Linked DNA regions of Homo sapiens: region 2 is linked to region 1. Evidence: promoter capture Hi-C in human tissues and cell types (Jung and others, 2019). All regions are on one chromosome and are shown on one strand. Each heading gives the region's core, a stretch centred on a gene start or on the middle of the fragment in contact. The rest is flanking DNA. Distances are from core to core; before and after follow the strand shown.

Region 1 (6,867 bases), core at 593-3,092:
CTAGTGAGAGGCTAGGCCTAGAGAGGGACATGGAGAAATAGCATGCGGAGAGGAACGGTAGAGGAGCAACGCTAACATTCAGTTGTAAATAATACAATCATAGCAGCTAATACATAGAGGGACTACACGCCAAGCACTGTTCTCACTGTTTAGCCATATTCACTCATTTAGCATGCGCAGTAGCTTGAATCCGGTTTTTCAATTATTCATTCCCTCTCTCTGCACGTGGCCGTAGAGTACACTAGAGTGGGCAGAAAATAAGTCACAAAACAGCAAAGAAACAGTGCTTTTGGAAGTAGGTATGAGACAAACTCTTTTCTAGGCAAAAGTAACCCACGAAAATGTGTGTGGAAAGGCCAGATCCTACTATTAGGCAGGATGGGAATTTGAGCCATTTTATTTGGATATTACAGAATGGGGTGACCCCAGAAAACTGGAAGAACTGGGGACCAGCAAATGGCCGACCTGCAGTCCTGAGCAGAGGATGTAGGCCAGAGTGGACCTAGAAGATAAGAAAGGGAATTGAATCCAGTAAGGGACAGACACTTTATTTTTTTATTTTTATTTATTTATTTATTTATTTTTGAGATAGAGTCTGATCTGGAGGCTGGAAGGCGGGGCTAAAACTCCCACTCACTTACCTCTACCAACAACTAGGCCACCAAGTCATTTCTGAGGACTGGCTCAAGAAAGCAGATTTAACTTACACTGGCCTAGCCCAGGCCACCAGATGCATCCACGGAGATCCAAATGCATATAATCACTTGAATCAAGATCTAGACAGGGACGCGTGCAGCAGGCTTCATCTGACTGATTCCTGACACGGGAGAGAAAGCCTAAGCTCCGAATCATCCTTCAATGTTTACAAAGGCCCTAAATAGCAGTGGGCTAATTGCTGTTCCTGGATTTCCAGGAGACCTGAGACCCATGAAGGAGCAGGAAAGAGCTTGGGGATAAAAAATTAATCTGGAACCTACTGGAGCGGAAGGGGCTGCACTCACCTGGAAAAGACAAAGTTCTTGGGAACTGGCCACGTAGGCCAGGTCCCTAAGCAATTCCATCCCGCACCCTAACACCCCGACTGGTGTTCCTGGGTCCCTAACATTGTCTGTACCCGCTTCGGAGGTTGGACAAAATGAGTTTTTCACTGCCCTGCCTCAGGCCTCTCTCAAAGGTCTGGCCCATGATATTTGGTGTACATTGGGACCCCAGCGCCCAGATATTTGAAACGGGGTGGGGAGCGGGTGTTGAGCTGCTACATTTCCAGGTTCTAGGTACCCTGGGGAACCCCTGGTCGTTGACGGAAGCACAGCGTTCAAGGGCGGCAGAGCTCAGGTACTGGAGGACACATGGGCCGCGCCGGGTCTAGCCGCGGGACATCCCCAGACCCCAGCACGGCCTCCCAGGCCGACCTTCCAGAAGCCGGCCCACTGCCTTCCCCGGGTCCCAGCCCAGAAAAGCGGAGACCTTCCCCTCCGTTTGGAAGATGGACTCATCCCCTACTTCCTCCTGGCTCCCCAGAAGACCTGGAGACCTCGGGAAGTGTTCTCATCTATGTTCGCTCCAACCCGGGGGCTCAGGCCCACCTCGATCCCGCCTTCCCGGGAGGTCCAGGAAGGTCCCGCCGCACCCACCCCGTTGGCCTCACCCTGGCTCGGGCCCCTTTATCATCCTGCAGCTACGCTCCGACCAGGAGGCACAGCCAGTCCCCACAGCCGGCTCTACCGCTCTGCTCGCAGGTTTGGGCTAGTCTGGGGCGGGGACTTGGGAGCGCCTAAAACTTGCGAGGAGGGCGGGGCCGCAGACCGGTCCTTTAAAGGTTGGAAGTGGCCCCGAGGCGCCGGCAGCCCTGGGCGGTCCCGGGAATCGCACAGGACCCGGCTCCCCTCGCCTAAGCTGCTGGGGGGCGCCATGGGCCGCTACCGCATCCGCGTGGCCACCGGGGCCTGGCTCTTCTCCGGGTCGTACAACCGCGTGCAGCTTTGGCTGGTCGGGACGCGCGGGGAGGCGGAGCTGGAGCTGCAGCTGCGGCCCGCGCGGGGCGAGGTCAGCGCGGGGAGCGAGGGGAGCTAGGGCAGCGGGGACCCCGGGCCCAGGCCCGGGCCGAGCTGGGCTCGCGGCGGGAGGGCGGGAGGCTGGGGGCGAGGTGACAGCGCGACCTCGCGGACTGGGACTTCCACGAAGCTGGGACGAGGTGGGCAAGATTAGGGACAGGGTCCGCAGCTGGGATCCCGGGCTGGGCTCAACCCCATCTCCCTTTCCCGCCCCTGGTCCCGGCAGCCCCCAGCTCCTTCTCCCAGTGACCCAGAGCCAATGTAAGTATGAGGCCAGAGGTCAGACGTGAAGCTCCTCCAAGAACCGGCGCGGGGAGAGCTCAGTTAATGGGACCCACGTGGGCGATGCTGCTCCAGCATCAGCTCCAGGCGCTGCGGGCCCTCGTCCTCCACCCGACTCCGGGCGTCTGAGACCCAAAGAGCAGGTTGTGCGGGGGCGGGAACGAGGCGATGCTGTCTTTGGAGGCCCTGAGAAACTGAGGTTGCACAGGAGCGCGGCTCTGTCCTCGAAACGGCCTCAGTCGGGTCCCTCCTACTAAGTCTGGCCTGGGTCCGGCCTGCACAGGAGGAGGAGTTTGATCATGACGTTGCAGAGGACTTGGGGCTCCTGCAGTTCGTGAGGCTGCGCAAGCACCACTGGCTGGTGGACGACGCGTGGTTCTGCGACCGCATCACGGTGCAGGGCCCTGGAGCCTGCGCGGAGGTGGCCTTCCCGTGCTACCGCTGGGTGCAGGGCGAGGACATCCTGAGCCTGCCCGAGGGCACCGGTGAGCAGGCGGCGTCGGGGAAGGAGGCACAAGGTCTCGGGAACTGCTGCGGGGCTAGGAGGGCAGAGTTAAGGACGGTCGGAGCAGACTTAGAGGATGTATGGGCCCAGGGCAGGTGAAATGTAGGGATCCCAGGGTGCTGGACAGAAAACGGGAAGGAGTTATGAATTCCCAAAGTTTTACACAGGCTAAGAGAGGCTGCGTGTGAGGCTGGAGGCAGGGAGTAAGTGATCTGGAGATCCCATCTTCCAAGAAGGCAAAGACAGAAAGTGGGAGTTGCAGCGATCCAGGAAAACAGAGAAGCAAAGTGAAAGTAGGAAGGAGATGTAAAGGTGACTCAGAAGTCAGGTGAGGGGACCACATGGAACAGGAGGGGGTGGGTGACCCGTGAGAGCAGACAGCTAAGGGAAGAAAACATAGGATGCTGGAGAGCTGGTTTGGTTGGAATAACACGGAAGACACCCGTGAAAGACAAGAAGCACACTGGCCCGCAGGAGACGAGGAGGAATGAGGATGGCAAATAGTGAATTTTTTTTTTTTTTTTTTTTGAGATGGAGTCTTGCTTTGTTGCCCAGGCTGGAGTGCAGTGGTGCGATCTTGGCTCACTGCAACCTCCACCTCCTGGGTTCACGCCATTCTCCTGCCTCAGCCTCCCGAGTAGCTGGGACTACAGGCACCCCCCACCACACCCGGCTAATTTTTTATATTTTTTTTAGTAGAGATGGAGTTTCACCGTATTAGCCAGGATGGTCTCGATCTCCTGACCTCGTGATCCGCCCTCCTTGGCCTCTCAAAGTGCTGGGATTACAGGCTTGAGCCACCACGCCCGGCCCAAATAGTGAATTTTTAACCATGGGTAATGAGTAAAAGAGAGATGAATCCAGAGATGAGTGAGGGCAGTAGGGATGGAACATCAAATCTATGACTTTGAGACAGGTGAGTGTAAATGCAGAAAAGACCCAGAATAAGTCCATAGATACAGATTATGATAGTAAATCCAGAAAGATGAGGTTTAAAAAAAAAAAAGCAAATGTAGAATCTTTTGAGGACAGGTGAAGGCGTGGCAGGTGAGGTTTAAGATGTGAAATTAATCAAAGCAATCTGTAGTAGACAGTAGGTGTAGGTGTATAGGTGACTAAGATTTCATCACCTTAATTAAGGTGATTTTTTTCCAACCATAGATATTGATGAAGTAAGGCCAGGTAGGGGAAGATGAGTGAAGGAGCAAGAAATGGTGGCAAACAGGAGGTTTTTATCTACAGGCAAAGGATGAGGGCTGAAATAAGAGAAAGCAGGAGTGCAAAGTTGGCAAAGATGGGATAAACGTGTCTGGTGGATAATCAAATGAGGCAAAGCCAGAGATAAAAGCAACAGTGCATGGCTGAAAACATGGAATACGGCTAACCACAGGGAGATGAGGACAAGAGGCGGGCATAGGACCAGACAGAGCCGTGAGGCCAATTGTCTTGATGTCTCCCCAGCCCGCCTGCCAGGAGACAATGCTTTGGACATGTTCCAGAAGCATCGAGAGAAGGAACTGAAAGACAGACAGCAGATCTACTGGTGACCACCCACCCCTTAAACTAACCCCGCCACCACTGTCCCACCCCTTCCCTGCCCCTGCCCCTGCCCCTGGCCCCATCACTGACCATGACATCCTTCCTGAAGCTTTGTCCCCAACTCCTAGCTGGGCCACCTGGAAGGAAGGGTTACCCCTGACCATCGCTGCAGACCGTAAGGATGATCTACCTCCAAATATGAGATTCCATGAGGAGAAGAGGCTGGACTTTGAATGGACACTGAAGGCAGGGTGAGAAAAAGGCTAGACCTCGGAGTGAAATAAGGGCTGGGAGGGCCAAGAATGATGATAGACGGTGAGGGACTGAGGGATCAGCTGATGAGTTAAGCCTCAATACCTGTCCTAGGGCTCTGGAGATGGCCCTCAAACGTGTTTACACCCTCCTGAGCTCCTGGAACTGCCTAGAAGACTTTGATCAGATCTTCTGGGGCCAGAAGAGTGCCCTGGCTGGTCAGTGGTTCCCCGAGGTCTCCATAATCCCTTAATGGCCCCTCTGGATGACTCATCACACTCCACAGTCCCCCGTAACTCTTTGCAAGAAGAGACCTTATCATATCTGGTCAACTCAGAGAGGCCTTGAGAATGAAAACGCAGAAGCTGGGTTCAGGGAGGGTTATATACCTGAACCCCTGGGGTAGATTTTGGAGAAGGGATATGCAGGCTGTGGTACATATATCCTCCTTTCACCGCCCACCAAAGAGAAGGTTCGCCAGTGCTGGCAGGATGATGAGTTGTTCAGCTACCAGTTCCTCAATGGTGCCAACCCCATGCTGTTGAGACGCTCGACCTCTCTGCCCTCCAGGCTAGTGCTGCCCTCGGGGATGGAAGAGCTTCAGGCTCAACTGGAGAAAGAACTTCAGGTACCTCTCCTTCCCCTGCCTGGCACTGTTCTCTCCTTAGTAGTGTGGTGAGAACGGACAGAGAGAATCCAAACTGAGTCAGAGGAAGGCTGCAGTACTGCATTGCCCCTTGGTGCAGTCCTGTGCTGGAAAAATACAGAAATAAAATATGTAGGGGAAGAAACTATGAGGAGCTCCCAGCAGGAAGGGGAAAATAGAATGGATCCCCAGCACACAGAGAGGGGCTGGAGATGTTAGCAGGAACAGTGACATTGCCTGGCCGCAGTGTTCTGGACTCCAGTGTTCATGGGCAGGGAGAAAAGTGAGGAAGTGCCATCAGGTGGGGAGAATCGGGGAGGCTTTCTAGAAAAAGAGAGCGGGGTTTGGAAGCAATGGACTGTACTGAGGACAAGCCTAGGCAAAATGTGTGCGTATGCATGTGTGTGCTGTATGCGGTGGCAGGGGTAGTAGGGGAAGCTCTCTGGAATATTTGGCAGAGGATGTGAGATTTGAATAGGGAATGAAAGAGCATTTGCTGAGCTGATAGGAGCCAAAACCAGAGCGCAGACCATTCGGGAATGATCAGAAAGGGGCCTGGCCATTTGACAGGTGGTCAGTTTACAATGCCTGTGATGCCAACTGGATTGAGCAGGCCTGGTTCCAAACCCAGATCTGCCACCACATCCACACACAAGACATCTACCCTCACCAGACTGTTTCTTCACTTTAAGATGAGAGGAACTGGACCAGGGGCTCTAGTTCTCCCAACAGGGCTCCGGTACTGATGCAGGAGAATGGCAAGAAGCTAGACTAAATCTCTTGCCCTTTGCCCCGGCCCCCTGGGGGTAGACTTTGAACTCTAAAAATGGATACATCCCTCCTGTCCCCAGAATGGTTCCCTGTTTGAAGCTGACTTCATCCTTCTGGATGGAATTCCAGCCAACGTGATCCGAGGAGAGAAGCAATACCTGGCTGCCCCCCTCGTTATGCTGAAGATGGAGCCCAATGGGAAGCTGCAGCCCATGGTCATCCAGGTAAGGGCCCCAGACCTCTCCCACAACGTTGCACTCTGTTCACCTCAACCTCTGCTCCCAGGGACCCAACCCCCAGCTCTTGGCTCCCAAACCCCATCCTCACTCAGTGAGACTTGTCTTCATGTCACTATTTGCCTGTACCCTCGTCTCCCCTGCCTCATCCAACTAGAATTACTTTTTCAAGAGTCAAAATGGCCTCCTGGAGTTCTCATCCTGTATCCAATGGTCCTCACACTTCAGTGTGCATCAGAATCACCTGAATGCCTGTTGAAATGCAGATTTCTGGATCCCATGACCAGACTTTCTGATTCAGTATGTCTGGGGTGGGAACTAAGAGTTTGCGTTTTTATAAGTTCCAAAGTGATGCTGACACTACCAGTTCAGGACTACACTTTCAGAATCACTATCTCATCTCTCAGTGGCCTCTGGCTCTGAACCCTCGCCATCTCTTGAATATCTTTTCTCGCAATTTCTTTTTTTTTTTTGAGACAGAATCTCACTGTGTCACTCAGGCTGGAATACAGTTGTGTGATCTTGGCTCACTGCAACCTGCGCCTCCTGGGTTCAAGCAATTCTCCCACCTCAGTCCCTCCA
Region 2 (6,802 bases), core at 812-3,311, 130 kb before region 1:
CTCTTCACCTTCACTTGGGAAGGAAGACAATACACATGAATAGTCATGCCTCAGGGATGAACTGAGAGCCCAGCTTACTTTTCACAAATATTAAAAGCAGATCTCCCAGATATTGACTTCTTGAAAATTCATTTTAATAAAATACACAGGCAATTTACTCCTCTGCTCAGAGGATAAGCAATTATTTCTTAAAAATGGGATTCACTTGTTACAACAATTAGACTCAAAGGGACACAAAGCTTCTAAAGAAAAACACCGCCTGTAATCCCAGCACTTTGGGAGGCCGAGGCGGGTGGATCATGAGGTCAGGAGATCGAGACCATCCTGGCTAACAAGGTGAAACCCCGTCTCTACTAAAAATACAAAAAAAAAATTAGCCGGGCGCGGTGGCGGGCGCCTGTAGTCCCAGCTACTCGGGAGGCTGAGGCAGGAGAATGGCGTGAACCCGGGAAGCGGAGCTTGCAGTGAGCCGAGATTGCGCCACTGCAGTCCGCAGTCCGGCCTGGGCGACAGAGCGAGACTCCGTCTCAAAAAAAAAAAAAAAAAAAAAAAAAAAAAAAAAAAAAAAAAAGAAAAACACCAATCCTGTCAAAAACAAGTGACGTGCTTAGGCCACCTAATATTTAAGGAAGGACTTTCTATTAGTCCATACCGACTGAAAGGAGTTTTAGCTCTTCTGCCATGAAGAACCAAGAAACAGCTGGGAGAGTTCTGGGGGCTGGCAAGACATTTAAAAACTTGGATCCCAAACTTTTCTTTAAAAGCCTGCCCCTTGGCCGGACACAGTGGCTCAGGCATGAGGCCTGTAATCCCAGCACTTTGGGAGGCTGAGGCAGGTGGATCACCTGAGGTCGGGAGTTCGAGACCAGCCTGGCCAACATGGTGAAACCCTGCCTCTACTAAAAATACAAAAAAAATAGCTGAGTGTGGTGGCGGGAGCCTGTAATCCCAGCTACTTGGGAGGCTGGGGCAGGAGAATCGCTTGAACCCGGGAGGCAGAGGTTGCAGTGAGCCAAGGTCGCGCCAGTGCACTCAAGCCTGGGCAAAAAGAATAAGACTCCATCTAAATGAATGAATGAATGAATGCCTGGCCCTTACATGCTTCTTTTAAACAGGACATTCCAGACCCTCTTGTTTGGACAGAAGAAAATCAAGAAATGTCAGAAATGATCAAAAATGACTTTACTAATGCCCAAGCTTTGGTGCATGCAGATTATAATCTTCTATTTTCAGTATTTGTACATGAAAGTGATGGAAAGATTTTAAGGGTCCTGACTAAAAAACATGGAGCCCAAAGAGACCTGTGGGGTATTGTAGCCAACAGTTAGACTCTGTAATAAGAGGATTTCCATCTTCCATGAGAGCCGTAAAGCCCCTGCTTTGTTAGTTGAAGCAACTGACGAAATTCTCATGGTGACAGCCCTTAGTGGTTTTGTTTCTCATTCTTGTGAAAGCATTTGCTAAACTCGCGTCATACTCAATATTATTCAGTTAGTAGACTAGTCTCATACGAAGTTTTCTTTCTTTCAGCTTCTCATATCAACATCTCTAGATGTAATAACCTAAATCCTACAACTCTTCTGTCTCCATTTCCAGATAAAACACTGCACTATTGCATAACCCTAACTGATCACTGATCAACTTCTTTCTCCCAGGACTGACCTCAAAGAGACCCCCCTTACTACTGCCAATGGTGTTTGGTTTACAAATGGATCTTACTTAAAGGATAAATCTGGGACTTACCACTCAGGTTATACAATAGTATCTTTAACTGGGGGGAAAAAAAGAAGGAGGAGAAGAAGAAGAGGAAAGTGTTAAGCTTCTAGGCACCACCTGAGCTCAACAAACAGAATTAATTACATTAGTCAGGACTTGTCAATTGGCAAGAGGAATAACTGCTAATATTAATATAGAGAGTAGATATGTTTTTAGAGTAGCTCATGATTTTGAAACACTATGGAAACACAGGATTTTTAACTTCTTCTGGTCAGTCCTTAAAAAGTGGCCACCTCATTTCATGATTTTTGAAAGCTATATTATTACCACAGTCACTGTTTATAATTAAAATTCCAGGCCATTTCAAATCAGATATCCCAGAAAGCAAAGAAAATTAGCTAGCTGATAAGGTAGCAAAAAGAGTGGCTCTAAACAAAAACACTCTGTATTAACTCTTAAACACCTGAATTTGATATAAAATTAGCTCAATCCAGAGCTCCAAAATCAGAATACAAAATCACACTTTGTGCTTGAATAAACTCCCTTTAAATTAGACTCTGATTCTTTTGATTATTTTAGGTTGACGCAGGTGAAGGCAAATAGATGCTGTGATTCAGGGCAGAGGAATTTACTGGAGAAGGTGGAAACATGAGTCAACCGTGAAGTAATTGGTGTCAGGGAGTATTGAAATGAGGATGGTTTTAGGGTTAGAAACTAAAGGGAATCCAGGCTTCATTAGTTTGTTTATGGCTTGCAGGTATTGGACTATTTAATATTCTTCCCATTAAGCTTTTGAATAGGCTTTATTTATTTTTCTGAGACGGAGTCTCGCTCTGTCGCCCAGGCTGGAATGCAGTGGCACAATCTTAGCTCACTGCAGCCTCCACCTGCTGGGTTCAAGTGATTCTCCTACCTCAGCCTCCCGAGTAGCTGGGACTACAGGCGCACACCACCATGCCCAGCTAATTTTTGTATTTTTAGTAGAGACAGGGTTTCACCATGTTGGCCAGGATGGTCTCGATCTCTTGACTTTGTGATCTGCCTGCCTCGGCCTCCCAAAGTGCTGGAATTACAGGTGTGAGCCACGGTGCCCGGCCAATAGGCTTTATTTTTTAGAACAGCATTTGATTTACAGAAAAATTGAGTATATAGCACAGAGAATTCCCACATATCCCTGTTCCTCTTTACACAGTTTCGCCTATTATTAGCATCTTGCTTTAGTGTTGTTACAGTTCATATACTTTACATTGTTAAATATAGTCTATTTAAAGACTATAGTTTATATTAGTTCACTCTTGGTATTGTATGGTTCTAAGGGTTTTGACAAACTCATAATGATTTCTCCGTTACAAGATCATGCAGAATAGTTTTACCTCCTAACACTGTCTATGTTCTACCTATTCATTCCTCTCCAGCTCTCTCCAAGCCTCTGCCAACTGCTGATCTTTTTACTGTCTCTATAGTTTTGTCTTGTCTAGAATGCCATCAGTGTGAAGTTCCTCCATGTCTTACTTTTTTCTTAAACTCAGTGGCAAGAAGCTCCATGTCTTTTAATTGTGTGATAGCTCATTTTAAAAGTTGCTGAATCGTATTCCATCGAATGACTGTACTACAGTTTATTCACTCACCTATTGAAGGATATCTTGGTTGCTTCCAGTTGTTGACAATTTTGAATAAAACCGCTATAAACATTTATGTGCAGGTTTTTGTGCTGAAATAAGTAGTTAAATATCTAGGAGTACAACTGCTGGATCAGATGGTAAAGCTATATATTTAGTTTGTGGGAAACTTCCAAATTTTCCAAAGCCACTCTGCCATCGTGCATTCCCACCAGCAATAAATGAAAGTTCCTATTGCTCTTCATCCTTGTCAGCATTTGGTATTGACACTGGTATCTATTGTAGTTTGTTTATTTATTTAATTTTTAGTGTTTGAGACAGGGTCTTGCTCTGTTGCTCAGGCTGGAGTGCAGTGGCACAATCATGGCTCACTGCAGCTTCCACCTCCTGGGCTCAAGCAATCCTCCTGCCTCAACCTCCAGAGTAGCTGGACCTACAGACACATGACAACACACATGGAAAATTTTTAAATTTGTTTTGCAGAGATGGGGTCTTGTTGCCCGGGCTTCTTGACCTCCTGGTCTCAAGTAATCCTCCCACCTCGGCCTCCCAAAGTGTTGTGACTACAGGCATGAGCTTCTGCACCTGGCTTCACTGTAGTTTTAATTTGCAATTTCCTAATGGCATATGACTTGAGCATCTTTTCCTATACTCATTTGCCGTATGTCTACCTTCTTTCATGAGATATCTGTTCAGATCTTTTGCCCTTTTTTTTTTGGTTTTTTGTTTTGAGACAGAGTCTCGCTCTGTCGCCGAGGCTGGAGTGCAGTGGCACTGTGTCAGCTCACTGCAACCTGCGTCTCCTGGGTTCAAGCAATTCTCCTGCCTCAGCCTCCTGAATAGCTGGGATTACAGGTGCCCATCACCATGCCCAGCTAGTTTTTATATTTTTAGTAGAGACGGGGTTTCACCATGTTGGCCAGGCTGGTCTTGAACTCCTGACCTCAGGTGATCCGCCCGCCTTGGCCTCCCAAAGTGCTGGGATTACAGGCGTGAGCCACCGTGCACGGCCTCTTTTGCCCATTTTTAAGTTTTTATTCTTAATTGTGACAAAATATACATAAAATTTACCATCTTAATCATTTGTAAGTGTACAGCTCAGTAGTGTTAAATACATTCACATTGTTGGCAGTCATTCTCCAGAACTCTTCGTCTTGCAAAACTGAAACTATTCCCATTAAACAACTCCCTATTCTGCAACTTGCCCTCCTCCCCCTAGTTCCCAGCAACCACCATTTGTTATGGGAAAAAGCCAGAACAGTATAGAAGCAAGTTCCCCCATACTGGGAAGGAGCCAAGACACCAAAGAATGACTTAGATAAGTTCAGTTTGAGGAGTAGATGAGTTTATTGGGACTTACCTACAGGGTACTCCTGGGCAGCAGCAAGGCAGCAGGACAACATGGAGGTCTGCTCTGCCACCTGTCTGCTTTTCATTTATGATCTATTTATTTTTACTTTAAAATAATTTTATTTTTTTGAGACGGAGTCTCGCTCTGTAGCCCAGGCTGGAGTATGGTGGCACTATCTCGGCTCACTGCAAGCTCCGCCTCCCAGGTTCATGCCATTCTCCTGCCTCAGCCTCCCCAGTAGCTGGGATTACAGGCGCCTGCCACCACACCTGGCTAATTTTTTTTGTATTTTTAGTAGAGACGGGGTTTCACCGTGTTAGCCAGGATGGTCTCGATCTCCTGACCTTGTGATCGACCCGCCTTGGCCTCCCAAAGTGCTGGGACTACAGGCGTGAGCCACCACGCCTGGCCAACTTTAAAATAATTTTGTATTAATTTTCGTGGGTGCGTAGTAGATATATACCTACTCATATACCTCATAGTAGGTGTATGGGGTATATGAGATGTTTTGATATTGGCATGTAATACATAATAAACACATCATGGAAAATGAGGTATTCATCCCCTCAAGCATTTATTCTTTGTGTTATAAACAATCCAGTTATGCTCTTAGTTATTTTAAATTTATTTATATATATTTATACATTTATTTAATGTGTAAATATTATTGACTATAGTCACCTTTCTAAGCTGCTTTTTTTTTTTTTTTTTTTTTTTTTTTTGGGAGACGGAGTCTCCTCGCTCTGTCGCCCAGGCTGGAGTACAGTGGCCCGATCTCGGCTCACTGCAAGCTCCGCCTCCCAGGTTCACGCCATTCTCCTGCCTCAGCCTCCCGAGTAGCTGGGACTACAGGCACCCGCCACCTCGCCCAGCTAATTTTTTGTATTTTTAGTAGAGACGGGGTTTCACCGTATTAGCCAGGATGGTCTGGATCTCCTGACCTCGTGATCCGCCCACCTTGGCCTCCCAAAGTGCTGGGATTACAGGCATGAGCCACCGCGCCCGGCCTCTAAGCTGCTTTTAGGCTAATTTTCTGGCTCTTTTCCTACTGTGTGTGCGCAATGGGACTGTTTTCCTTGGTATGCTCTCAGATATACTCTGGGATGTTTCGGTTCTCAGGGATACCTGCTCCTTGGGTGGGCCACTGACTCACTGCCTAGCTTTCAGGGTTCAGGCAGCAGACATAGATCCTTAAGTAATCTGGTGGGTGACTCATCACACTACACTCAGCCATTTCATTTTCTTATAGCAGTGTCTAATCTTAGGTGTTGTACATGGAAAACAAAGGCGTTACAGGAACTGCAAATAGGGATGCGGAACCTTTTGTCAAGGAATCCTTGAATAATAAACAGATCTGAGACCTTCACTTGCTTCAGATTTTGAAGGAAACTGGGATAGTCCATGGAGGGGGAATGGTGGAGTCTATTTCTACTTTTAAGGGCCCTACTTCCCCAATATGTCTGTTGATCCTGTAGCCAAAGAAACTGATGGATGTGAGTGAGCATGTTCTGAGTGAGGGATGCCAAGGGCTTGGGGAATTATGGGGGGAGCAAGGAAACGGGTGATCTATCAGAGCTGTTGGAGGATAAAGGCCAGGGGGAAGGAGTTCCAGAACTTCAGGAATTAGTACGTCGGATAAACAAAAATATTAACATTCCAAATAGAAAGTAAATCCCTGCTAATAGATTAACAGGGATTGTGAAATTTAACAAAAAGCTGTGTTGGGCATGATGGAGTCCAAGAGACACCAAAAGGGGCTTAGAAAGAGGCAAATCATCCACCCCCACTACTGAGGCATTATGGTAAGGAATTGTGAGGGTTAAGGGTAGAGTAGGTGGTTCTAGTATCTATTAGAAAGGTCATAGGGTGCTCACTGACTGGGATTATTATTTCTCCCTGTGTGTTCAAGGGTATCAGGGGGTGCACAAGAGCAGATTCCTCAAAGGGGAGTCACTGGGATGCTGACGTTTTTCTTTTTGGACCTTGAGATAATTACAGGTGCTCCAGACTACTCATGATCGTAGGGATGTCGAGGTGACTTCAAGGCCTTGGGGTGATTCCCCATGAGTTGTTTCAGTTGGAGATCCATGAGTTTGCATTTTTCAGATTATTTAGA

Evidence for each region. The method cuts DNA at HindIII sites, captures the fragments that hold promoters and counts their contacts. A contact is called where the count stands out against the background at its distance.
Region 2: a fragment that was not itself captured here is called in contact with the fragment with the promoter of ALOX12 in region 1 in 2 of the 25 tissues and cell types used here (dorsolateral prefrontal cortex and spleen).

The regions. Positions count from the first base shown.
Region 1 is chr17:6,994,207-7,001,073 of GRCh38, forward strand. It overlaps ALOX12 (arachidonate 12-lipoxygenase, 12S type), which reads left to right and starts at 1,843. Exons shown (of 14, transcript NM_000697.3): 1 at 1,843-2,046; 2 at 2,620-2,821; 3 at 4,303-4,384; 4 at 4,509-4,631; 5 at 4,747-4,850; 6 at 5,100-5,260; 7 at 6,130-6,273. The coding sequence starts at 1,912. All of the region lies in intron 2 of ALOX12-AS1 (ALOX12 antisense RNA 1), which reads right to left. The HindIII fragment of the contact is 20,112 bases long and covers 1-6,360 here.
Region 2 is chr17:6,866,447-6,873,248 of GRCh38, forward strand. It overlaps the pseudogene ALOX12P2. Among named protein-coding and RNA genes, the nearest start is that of TEKT1, 38 kb to the left of the region's middle. The HindIII fragment of the contact is 5,673 bases long and covers 1-4,898 here.